Linked DNA regions of Homo sapiens: region 1 is linked to region 2. Evidence: promoter capture Hi-C in 16 types of primary human blood cells and fetal thymus (Javierre and others, 2016). All regions are on one chromosome and are shown on one strand. The core of a region is centred on a gene start or on the middle of the fragment in contact, and the rest is flanking DNA. Distances in the headings are between cores, read along the strand shown. Region 1 overlaps TCF7L1 (transcription factor 7 like 1). Region 2 holds the start of KCMF1 (potassium channel modulatory factor 1).

Region 1 (4,345 bases), core at 1-2,500, 320 kb before region 2:
GGAACTAGTGGAAAGGCGATTCTTGTTACAAAGTGGGAAGAAACATGGCTGAGTTATTTTGTAGTGTTTTGTGAAAGGTAGAACTTGTGAGTGATGAATTTAGATATTCAGCACAAGTTATTTCTAAGCAAAGTGCTGAAGGTGTGGCTTGGTTTCTCCTTACTGCTTGTAGTAAAATGTGAGAAGTAAATTATTGTTAAGCAAAAAGGAACCAGAACTTGAAAATTTAGAAAATTCTCAGCCTAGCCTCATTGCAAAAAAATGAGAAGGTGTGTTCCTAAGAGAACACCAATGGTGTGGCTGGACGATCAGATAATGAGACTGGGGCTGTGAAGCATGGATTCAACCAACCACCTCAGCAGAAATACTGCCCTTTTGGATTAAAATGGACAAAGACAGGACAAAGGGAAGGAAGGCTGTCAGACTTCTACAGAATGGGCTACAGTGATGTGGCTGCAAACATTTGTTATCTTTCAAGAAGAGGGAAGAATGACCCCAAGAGGGGATTCACAAGGTGTGGCTGCCGCCCAGGGCCTCAGGGGCACAGCTCCCAGCTCCCATCCTGGTGGGCTGGAAGGACAGAGAATGAATGGTGCCAAAGAGGATTATTCTTGAGCATTAAATTGAATAGAACTCTGCTAGCAGACTGCCTTTAGACTTAGACTGTAACTCTTCCCTGCCAGTCTCCAGCCTGCCAGCTTACCCTCTTAAATCTTTCTCCCTCTACACATTCACACTCACTCACTCACTCGCTATATATACATACATCACCTTGGTTCTGTTTCCCTGGAGAACCCTAACACAGAACTGTCCTATATCTTTTTTATTTTTACTTTTCATACCAAGCTAAGCTGACTAGGAGAACTGTTCTATATCTTGATTGTGGTGAACTCATGTATGACTGCAAAAGTTTGTCAAAACTCACAGAACTATATACTCATGTGAATTTCACTATATGTAAATTATATCTTAAAAATGGGGAGGTTGGGCATGATGGCTCATGCCTGTAATCCTAGCACTTTTGGAGACTGAGGCAGGCGGATCACTTGAGGCCAGGAGTGCAAGGCCAGCCTGAGCAACATAGCGAGACCCTAACTCTAATTTTTTTTAAATGGGGGGAAAAGCGCACACGTATACAAATATATGCACAGGATGCTAACTTTAGCTTAAAAACTGGGGCCGGGTGAGGTGGCTCACGCCTGTAATTCCAGCACTTTGGGAGGCCAAGGCGGGCAGATCACCTGAGGTCAGGAGTTCAAGACCAGCCTGGCTATCATGGTGAAACCCCGTCTCTACTAAAAAAATACAAAAATTAGCCATGTGTGGTGGCAGGCGCCTGTAATCCCAGCTACTTGGGAGGCTGAGGCAGGGAGAATTGCTTGAACCCGGAGTGTGAAAGTTGCAGTGAGCTGAGATCGCACCACTGCACTCCAGCCTGGGCGACATAGTGAGACTCTGTCTCGGAGAAAAAAAAAAAAAAACTGGGCTAGGCGTGGTGGCTCGTGCCTGTAATCCCAGCACTTTGGGAGGCTGAGGTGCGCGGATCCCGTGAGGCCAGGAGTGCCAGACCAGCCTAGCCAACATGATGAAACCCCGTCTCTACTAAAAATACAAAAAAATTAGCTGGGCGTGGTGGTGAATACCTGTAATCCCAGGTACTCGGGAGGCTGAGGCAGGAGAATCTCTTGAACCCAGGAGGTGGAGGTTGCAGTGAGCTGAGTTTGTGCCACTGCACTCCAGCCTGGGCAACAGTGAGACTGTCTCAAAACAAACAAACAACTGGAAACCATCTATGTCTATCTATTTTTAAAATGTTTAAATAAAAGGCAACCAGGAAGAGAGAGGTGGCAAAGTTTCAAAGGTGGTAGATATTTCTGCCTTTGCACTAACCTCATCTAGATTTTTCTCTACACCTTCCTCTATCCCTCAACTCCTTACTCTCTAGGTCCCTTTTCTGATTCTGGATGCTCAGCCTAACAGCTAAAATTTGCATTAAAAAACCCCTGAATATCTGACCATTTTCCAAAAAGCTGGATTAAGTCACTCTAAAGTTTTGGAGAACTGCAACCATTTCCAAGTTATCTGGATTATTTGTCTCCTGGTCTCTGGGTCTCTGGCCCCATTTGCCTGTAACTCAGCAGAATTTATTAGGCATCTACCTGGACAGGAAGCATTTTGGTCATCAGAGAGCAAGTTATAAGTATACACACACACACACACACACACACACACACACTCCAGACTGAAATACTATTTAACAAAATGTTTGTGGGTTGTGGGATTATAGATCTTTTTCTGTGCTTTCTGGCATTTTCCCAAGAGTTCTACACAGTGCATGCATTACTTTTACGGTTTCAAAAAAAGATTTTTTAAAATTAAAAAACAGTTCTGAATGAAAAAAGGGGTTGGATCTTGGGTAAATGTGGGTAGAGAAGGGGTATTAACTTTTTACCAGACCATTCATTCTTCCATTCATTCAACAAATGCTCCCGAGCATTACAACAGGCGCTCAGATGCGATTCCTGTCTTCGTGTTGCTTATATTCTAGAGGGGCATATATGTGTTTTGCGTGGCTGGACACAGTGCTCCTGGGGGACACTGGAGGGAAGACAGGCACCTGGCATGTGGGGCCATGGTGAGGGGTCTGGATAATAATCTGCAAGTGATGAAATTACACTGATCGGATCTTACAAATAGTTGCTTATACAATGTTACTGTTAGTCTTTAGAGCTTGTTTTGAAGGTGTAAAGTCCAAATTATTAAGCACTTAACTTCATCCCGCACCCGGGCCCAGTTGTGACTTGCTTAGACATACTTCCTTGTTAGGCAGCTTCTACATGACTCACTAAATCTCTGCAAGTATGCAGGCTGTTTCCTTCGCTTGCTCTACTCCCAGGGCAAACCTCACCTTAAATATTTTACTCCTGACTCTAAAATACATTTCATAATCTCAAGTATTTTAACAAAAAAGCCGGTGTCCAAACCTCTGTGACTCCCTCCGAAAAACCTTCAAGTTCTGCTCACACGTCTAGCCTGGAGAGCCGCATGGAGTAAACTGGGATGTCTCTAGGTCCTCCTTCCACTCCGCCTCTGGTTTGTGATTTGCAATTACAACAATGATCCTCGACTCTGGCTGCCCCTTGGAATCTCCTGGGGAGCTTAAAAACTAAGATACCAGCCGCACCCCAGACCAATTAAATCATATCCTTGGGGGATTAGATGCTAAATTCTATAGGCTCATTATCTCTGTTACCTCTGCAATCTGTCCATTTGTTCTGGCACCTAATTCAGGCCCTCATTACCTCTTAGTTTTGCTAATTAAACAGTATTTTCGTTGTTCTTTCCCTCTCATTTAATAATAGTAGAGGTAGCGGTAGTGGTGGTGGTGACGCTGGGAGTAGTAAGCTAATAGTTATTGAGGACTTATTTTGTGGTAGAGGCACAATTCTAGACTCATTACAATACACTGGCTCATTTTCGCACAACGACTCTATGAAGTCAGTCTCTTCTAATCCCCATTTAATAGATGAGGAAACCAAGGCAAAGAGAGATGAGGTAATTTGCTTGGAGCTGCATAAATAGAAAGAGGTGGATCTGGGATTGCAACCAAGTGTATTATACAGCCTCCCACTCATATACCCTCCTCCCCGGGTGTCTCAGGTTTTGCTCCTGCACGTACACACCTCTCGTTGGAATGAGATGCTCTGCCTCAAAAACTGAGAATGATGGTCTTCTCCCCATCTGTTGAATTCCCAGTTAAGATTTTCTCCCATAAATGTTCCTTAAGTTTTTGAGGCCTGTGTCTGCTTTGCTATATTATAATATAGACTACGGTAATATAAAATTTACTAGAAAACTATCCATGTTGCTATCTATAATGCCATGTGTGGCAACGGTTCATGCTTCTCTGCCCTTAGACAAAATAAGGGACCCCTGCTCCACCACAATGCTGAGTTATTATTTGCAGAGCACACATCTGCAATGGTTAGATGTTTGTTTGGCAGTTGGAACTACGGGTGTAGAACTTTCTTGAGAGTTCTACAGCTCTCTTGATGGGATTTTATATATTTTTTCTGTCACAAACATTGAGAGGAATAAGTGATGATGAAGAGTTGATTTATTTGAATAAAAGTCTAGAAAGAAAATGGAAGCTTCAAAAAGACAAACAACTGATTATGTGTATTAATACAGTATCTTGGAGTCAATGATAAGATTTACAGGAAGCAGAGAGTAGTCAGGCCTTGGCTGTCGGCTGTGTTGCAAAAAAGCAGGAAAATGAGTGGAGTTAGTTATTCGATGGTGACTGAAGCGCTAAGCCGGGCTGCAGTGGAGTGGCAGAATAAAG
Region 2 (4,900 bases), core at 129-2,628:
TATTAACCTTAGCAGGACAAACTTTTCGCCAAGACTCTTAACACTTTTTATCCAAAAACCTGTAGTAGTGAAACAAAGAAAACACAACCCCCTCCTCCTTTTCTAAACCATATGGCAATAAATTAAAGTTAACTTATTTCTTACCAGCTCAAAGCCTATACATCGACCCTAAACATTTGTCTCTTTGTGCCCTGGGACTGGGCTTAGAGCTGTCTGCTTATTTGCAACTGTACTCCAATCGTGTTTTAAAATGGCAAAACAAGGTCCAAAACGACCCCCGACCATGAACAGACCTCACCATCGTCATTTTCCAAAACCTGGTCTGGTAGGCAGCACATGCCGGCGAGGGCACCAGGGCCGCGGGGAGCGAGCCCTGCTCCGCCTGGGTGACTGAGCAGGGAGTTTGCTTGCTGCGGCGGGGTCGGATCCACCCCGGGAACTTGGTTACCCGAGCCCAGGGACGCGCCGAGGCCTAGCCGCGAGGCCGGGGCGGGCTCCAGGCGGCGAGGGCTTCCCGTCCCTTGGCCGCAGAGCCTTCCCGCCAGCCCCGCGGTCGCCCGCAGGCGGGGACACTCGCCGTCGTCTCCCGGCGACCGGACGCGCCTGCCGGGTCCCGGGCCGGCTCTTTTGCCTCCTGCTGCCGCCCGCGGCCCGGCTCTGCGACCACACCGGGCTCTTCCGGGGCGGCGGGAGCGCTAGGCCGCGCTGGGGCCCGCGGCTCCTGAACCGGCCGGGCGGGCCTTGGCGTCCGGTATCAGTCCCGAAGGCCGAGCTCCCGCCGGTAACGGGCCCCGCCGCCTCCCCTCCCCCTCCGCCCCATGACAGTGCAAACCCTCCGGCCGCCCGGGCCGCCCCGCCTCCAGCACCAGGCCCAGCTAAGGGCCGCGGCCGTGGCGGCAGCGGCGCCGCGGCTCTCCGCCCTCGCTCGCTCGCTCCCGGGTCCAGCGCCTCGGGCCCGGCTCGGGCTCGGCCAAAGTCTCCGCCGCTTCCCGGCCGCCCTCCGCCGCGCCCGGCCCGGGCGGGGTAGGCCGAGGCCCGGGAGGTGCGGGTGGGGGCGGGGGCTCCTCTCACCTTCATGTCGGGACATCCTAGTTCAGACGGTGGCGGCGCGGCCCCTCCCGGGCTCCGGCTGCAGTGTCCCCCGCGGGGTCCCGGCGCTGCCCGCGCCGGCCGGCCGACTCCCACTCGACTCCCGGGCTCGGCCGCGGGGGCGGGGTGGGCAGGGGAGCGCTCCCGCGGCGGCGGCGGCGGCGGCGGCGGGGAGGCGGCGCGGGGCGGGAATGGGGCCGGGCCTGGTCGGGGCTGAGCTCCTCCAGGAGGCGGGTCCGACGCCGCAGCTCCGCCGGCGCCCGCCGTGACTCCGGTCACTCTCGGGCCTGCCGGCTCCCGGCAGCGGCGCGGCGCTCCGCAAATCCCGCTCCTCCCCTCCCCCGGCCCACCCCCCGCCCCTCTCCCCCGGCTCCCGGCCGCCGCCTCCTCCTCCTCCTCTTCCTCCTCCTCCGCCTCCTTCCGCCGCCCGCACGCCAGCCCCGCCTCTCGCTGCCCTCGCCGGGCCCAGCCGCCCGGAGGCCCCGCGGCCGGCGGTCGCGACGGGGGCGACGCGGCGACGGCGGCTCGGGGCGCGGCGCTTGCCCGCGCTAGCCAGCAGGCCGCGATCGGGCGCCCGTGCCCAGCCTCGGCCTGGCCGCCGCCGCCGCCGCCGCGCCGCGCGTAGGGAGGAAGAGGAAATGCCCGGCGCCGGCTCCCGCTGCTCACCGGCGCGGCCCGAGGGGCGCCCGCCCGCCACGCCGCCCCTAGCCCCGCCTGGGGCGGGCCTAGGCCGGGCTATAGGGGCCAGGGCCTTGGGCTGCGCCGGCCGCGGGAGGTGGGTGCTTCTCGGCGGCGAGCTGCGACTCGGAGAGACTCCTGTCCGCAGGTGCATGGCTTCCGGGCGGGCCTCGGGCAGCGAGCTCCAGCCCCACTGAGAGGCCGCGGACCGCCTGGGGACTTGTGTTTGTGTGTATTTTAAGCCAACAGCCCAGAAAGGGAAGGCGACTGGCCCCCGGTCTTCGCCAGTGTTTCCCGGCCGGGTTACTGGTGGTCAGGAGGGAAGCCAGGAGGCTGCCGGGCTCCGAGGCCGATTCCTTGCGAACCATCTCCGTTAAAGACTCCGCGCCGGGCAGCCCGGGAGTCCGGCGGTACCCGCGCAAACTTTGTCCCAGCGCCTTGGCTCACCGTGAATGCCCTGCCTTGAAAATTTGGAGTTTTTTGTTTCCTGAAAGTGGTCTGCTTTTCCGATTTTATCTGTGTTTTCCATTTTTACCTTCTTATTGTCAATTTGTTTTCAGGCATTATTAATTCAACAAATCTTTGTACTGCCCCTTACCACGTGTCGATGGTTCCGTGGTTTGGTGGAAATAGATCGCGCTTTGAAGTCAAGACGGATCGGCCATGGAATTTTGGCTCTGAGATCCTCTGTGTAACCGTGGATGAGCTACAAGGCCTGCTGAGCCTCCATTTGTCTGGTTTTTGTGGTTGTTTTAATTTATCTTTTTCCATTTGAAGTTGTGGGTTTTGCATAAAATTGAACTGTTACCAGGCTAAGTCAACTGAAATTGGAATCTGGGGTACTGCTTGCTTTGAGGTTACTCTTATACTGTCCACCATTTGCTGGCTGTGTGATCTCTAAACCTCTCTGTGCCCTGACTTTTCTATCTTTAAAATGGACGTAACAACAGAGGTTTAATAATAAGAGGTTTGGAGGTTAAGTGCTAAAATGCATATAAAATACCTAGCACAGGACACAGTAAAAAGATTGTTACCGTATTTCATTGAATCTGGTTTTAAGACACTTCCTGATTTCAAAGAAACTAAAAGCTCATCTTGAAGTCCAGGAAGTAGGTTTTGGGTCACTCAGAACTCCCAAGGGACTGTATTTGGTAGTAACTAGTGATAAACAAACTGGAGTTTAAATGAGGACTTTGTCACCAGAGATATTTTTATTGCCTGTATGGAGCTCCTGCACAAATTTATTCCATTTCTCTTGTAGAAAGAGATCCAACCTGGCCGTAAATGGGGTGTGGTGGAGTAGAAAGAAGGGTATTAAGTAAAGCTCTGTGTCGATGCCTTTCTGAGCATTTTACGGTGTTGGCATATGTGATCCTGGGTATCAGGAGCCTCAATTTCTTGGGCTGTAAAAATGGGGAGAACAACGCTGATCCCATTGTCTCCTGATGGGTAAGTGATGTCTATAAATAAATTGTATAGAGATTAAGGCATTATCAGTGCTGTAGTCTGATAAAATGGTGGAGCAGATAGGAAAGCCTACAACAGTACTGAACTGCAGGAGGGACTAAGAGTAAATATAGAGATTTCATTTGCTTGGTTTTGCAGAGGGTTAGCTAACTAAACAGATAACTTTGTTTTCGACAGTTACTTCATTTTTTTCAGTCAGGCAAGAGTAAGGAGAGAGTAACTAAACCATTTTTTTTCCTCTTTAAATAAGAGTAAGCAGAAATATTATGGTTATTTGGGGTTTTCATGACCTTCATTCACTTAGCGGTCAGGCTGTTCAATTTAAAACAACCTTTTGCTTGCTGCCCTGCCATATGGGAAATTTCATTTCCAAAAAAAGGATTAATTTCCAGCCTGGGCGAAACCCTATCTCTACGGAAAATATAAAAATTAGCGGCCAGGAGCAGTGGCTCATACCTGTAATCCCAGCACTTTGGGAGGCCGAGGCAGGTGGATCACGAGGTCAGGAGTTCAAGATCAGCCTGGCCAAGATGGTGAAACCCCATCTCTACTAAAAATACAAAAATTAGCCTGATGTGGTGGCACGCGCCTGTAATCCCAGCTACTTGGGAGGCTGAGGCAGAGAACTGCTTGAACCTGGGAGCATTCCAGCCTGGATGACAGAGTGAGACTCCGTCTCAAAAAAAAAAAAAAAATTAGCTGGGCGTGGTGGCATCCGCCTTTGGTCCCAAATACTCAGGAGGCTGAGGTGGGAGGATTGCTTGAGCCCAGGAGGTCGAGTCTGCAGTGAGCCGTGATTGTACCACCACATCCTAGTCTGAGTGACAGTGTGACACTCTGTCTCAAAAAAGAAAAGAAGATCAAGAAGGATTAATTTAAATCCTTATACCAAATTGTCTACCAAATGATTTTTGTTCCACTCCAGAAATGTTTTCCTCCAGTCCCTTCCTCTCTCTGCACCCTCCTGAGTTCTCCTTTCTTCTGTGGACAACTGTAACTAATGCGTGTTTTTGCTAGGCTGACCCTTCTTTCATACTATGGCCCAATTATGTTTTTTCAAATAAGCTAATGGATGTAAGCACTGGTGAAATCTGAATAAGGTCTGTAGTCTACTTGATAGTATTGTACCAATGTCAGTTTCCTGGCTTTTGATATTTTTCCATAGCTTTGTAAGATGTTCCCATTTGAGAAAGTGTACCTGGGCCCTCTTTGCAACTACCTATGGGTAAATGATTATTTCAAAGTAAAAAATTAAAGTATAGGGACAGAAATTAGATCAATGGTTACTGGCAACTGGAGCTGGGGAAGGGTGGACTGATCACACTTTTTGAGATGATGAGAATATTCTCTAACTTGATTGTGGTATTTACATTACTGGATGACTCTGTGAATCTGTCAAAACTCATAGAACTATACACCTAAAAGGGTGGTTTTTTTTTTTTTTTTTTTTTTTAGATGAAGTCTCGCTCTTGTCCCCCAGGCTGGAGTGCAATGGTGTGATCTCGGCTCATTGCAACCTCCGCCTCCCGGATTCAAGCGATTCTCCTGCCTCAGCCTCCCAAGTAGCTGGGATTACAGGTGCATACCACCACGCCCGGCTAATTTTTTGTATTTTAAGTAGAGGCGGGGTTTCACCATGTTGGCCAGGCTGGTCTCGAACTCCTGA

Evidence for each region. Contacts are between HindIII fragments. The CHiCAGO score rates a contact against its expected background, and 5 or more counts as called.
Region 1: a fragment that was not itself captured here is called in contact with the fragment with the promoter of KCMF1 in region 2 in 5 of 17 cell types (M1 macrophages, M2 macrophages, M0 macrophages and 2 more); the score reaches 10.6 in M1 macrophages.

The regions. Positions count from the first base shown.
Region 1 is chr2:85,287,113-85,291,457 of GRCh38, reverse strand. The region is part of intron 4 of TCF7L1 (transcription factor 7 like 1); the gene reads right to left. Among named protein-coding and RNA genes, the nearest start is that of TGOLN2, 39 kb to the left of the region's middle. RefSeq lists an enhancer at 1,008-1,508. The HindIII fragment of the contact is 5,806 bases long and covers 1-4,153 here.
Region 2 is chr2:84,967,639-84,972,538 of GRCh38, reverse strand. KCMF1 (potassium channel modulatory factor 1) reads right to left here and starts at 1,378. Exons shown (of 7, transcript NM_020122.5): 1 at 1,072-1,378. The coding sequence starts at 1,087. RefSeq lists silencers at 504-1,593, 1,624-1,873 and an enhancer at 2,372-2,451. The HindIII fragment of the contact is 10,310 bases long and covers 1-4,900 here.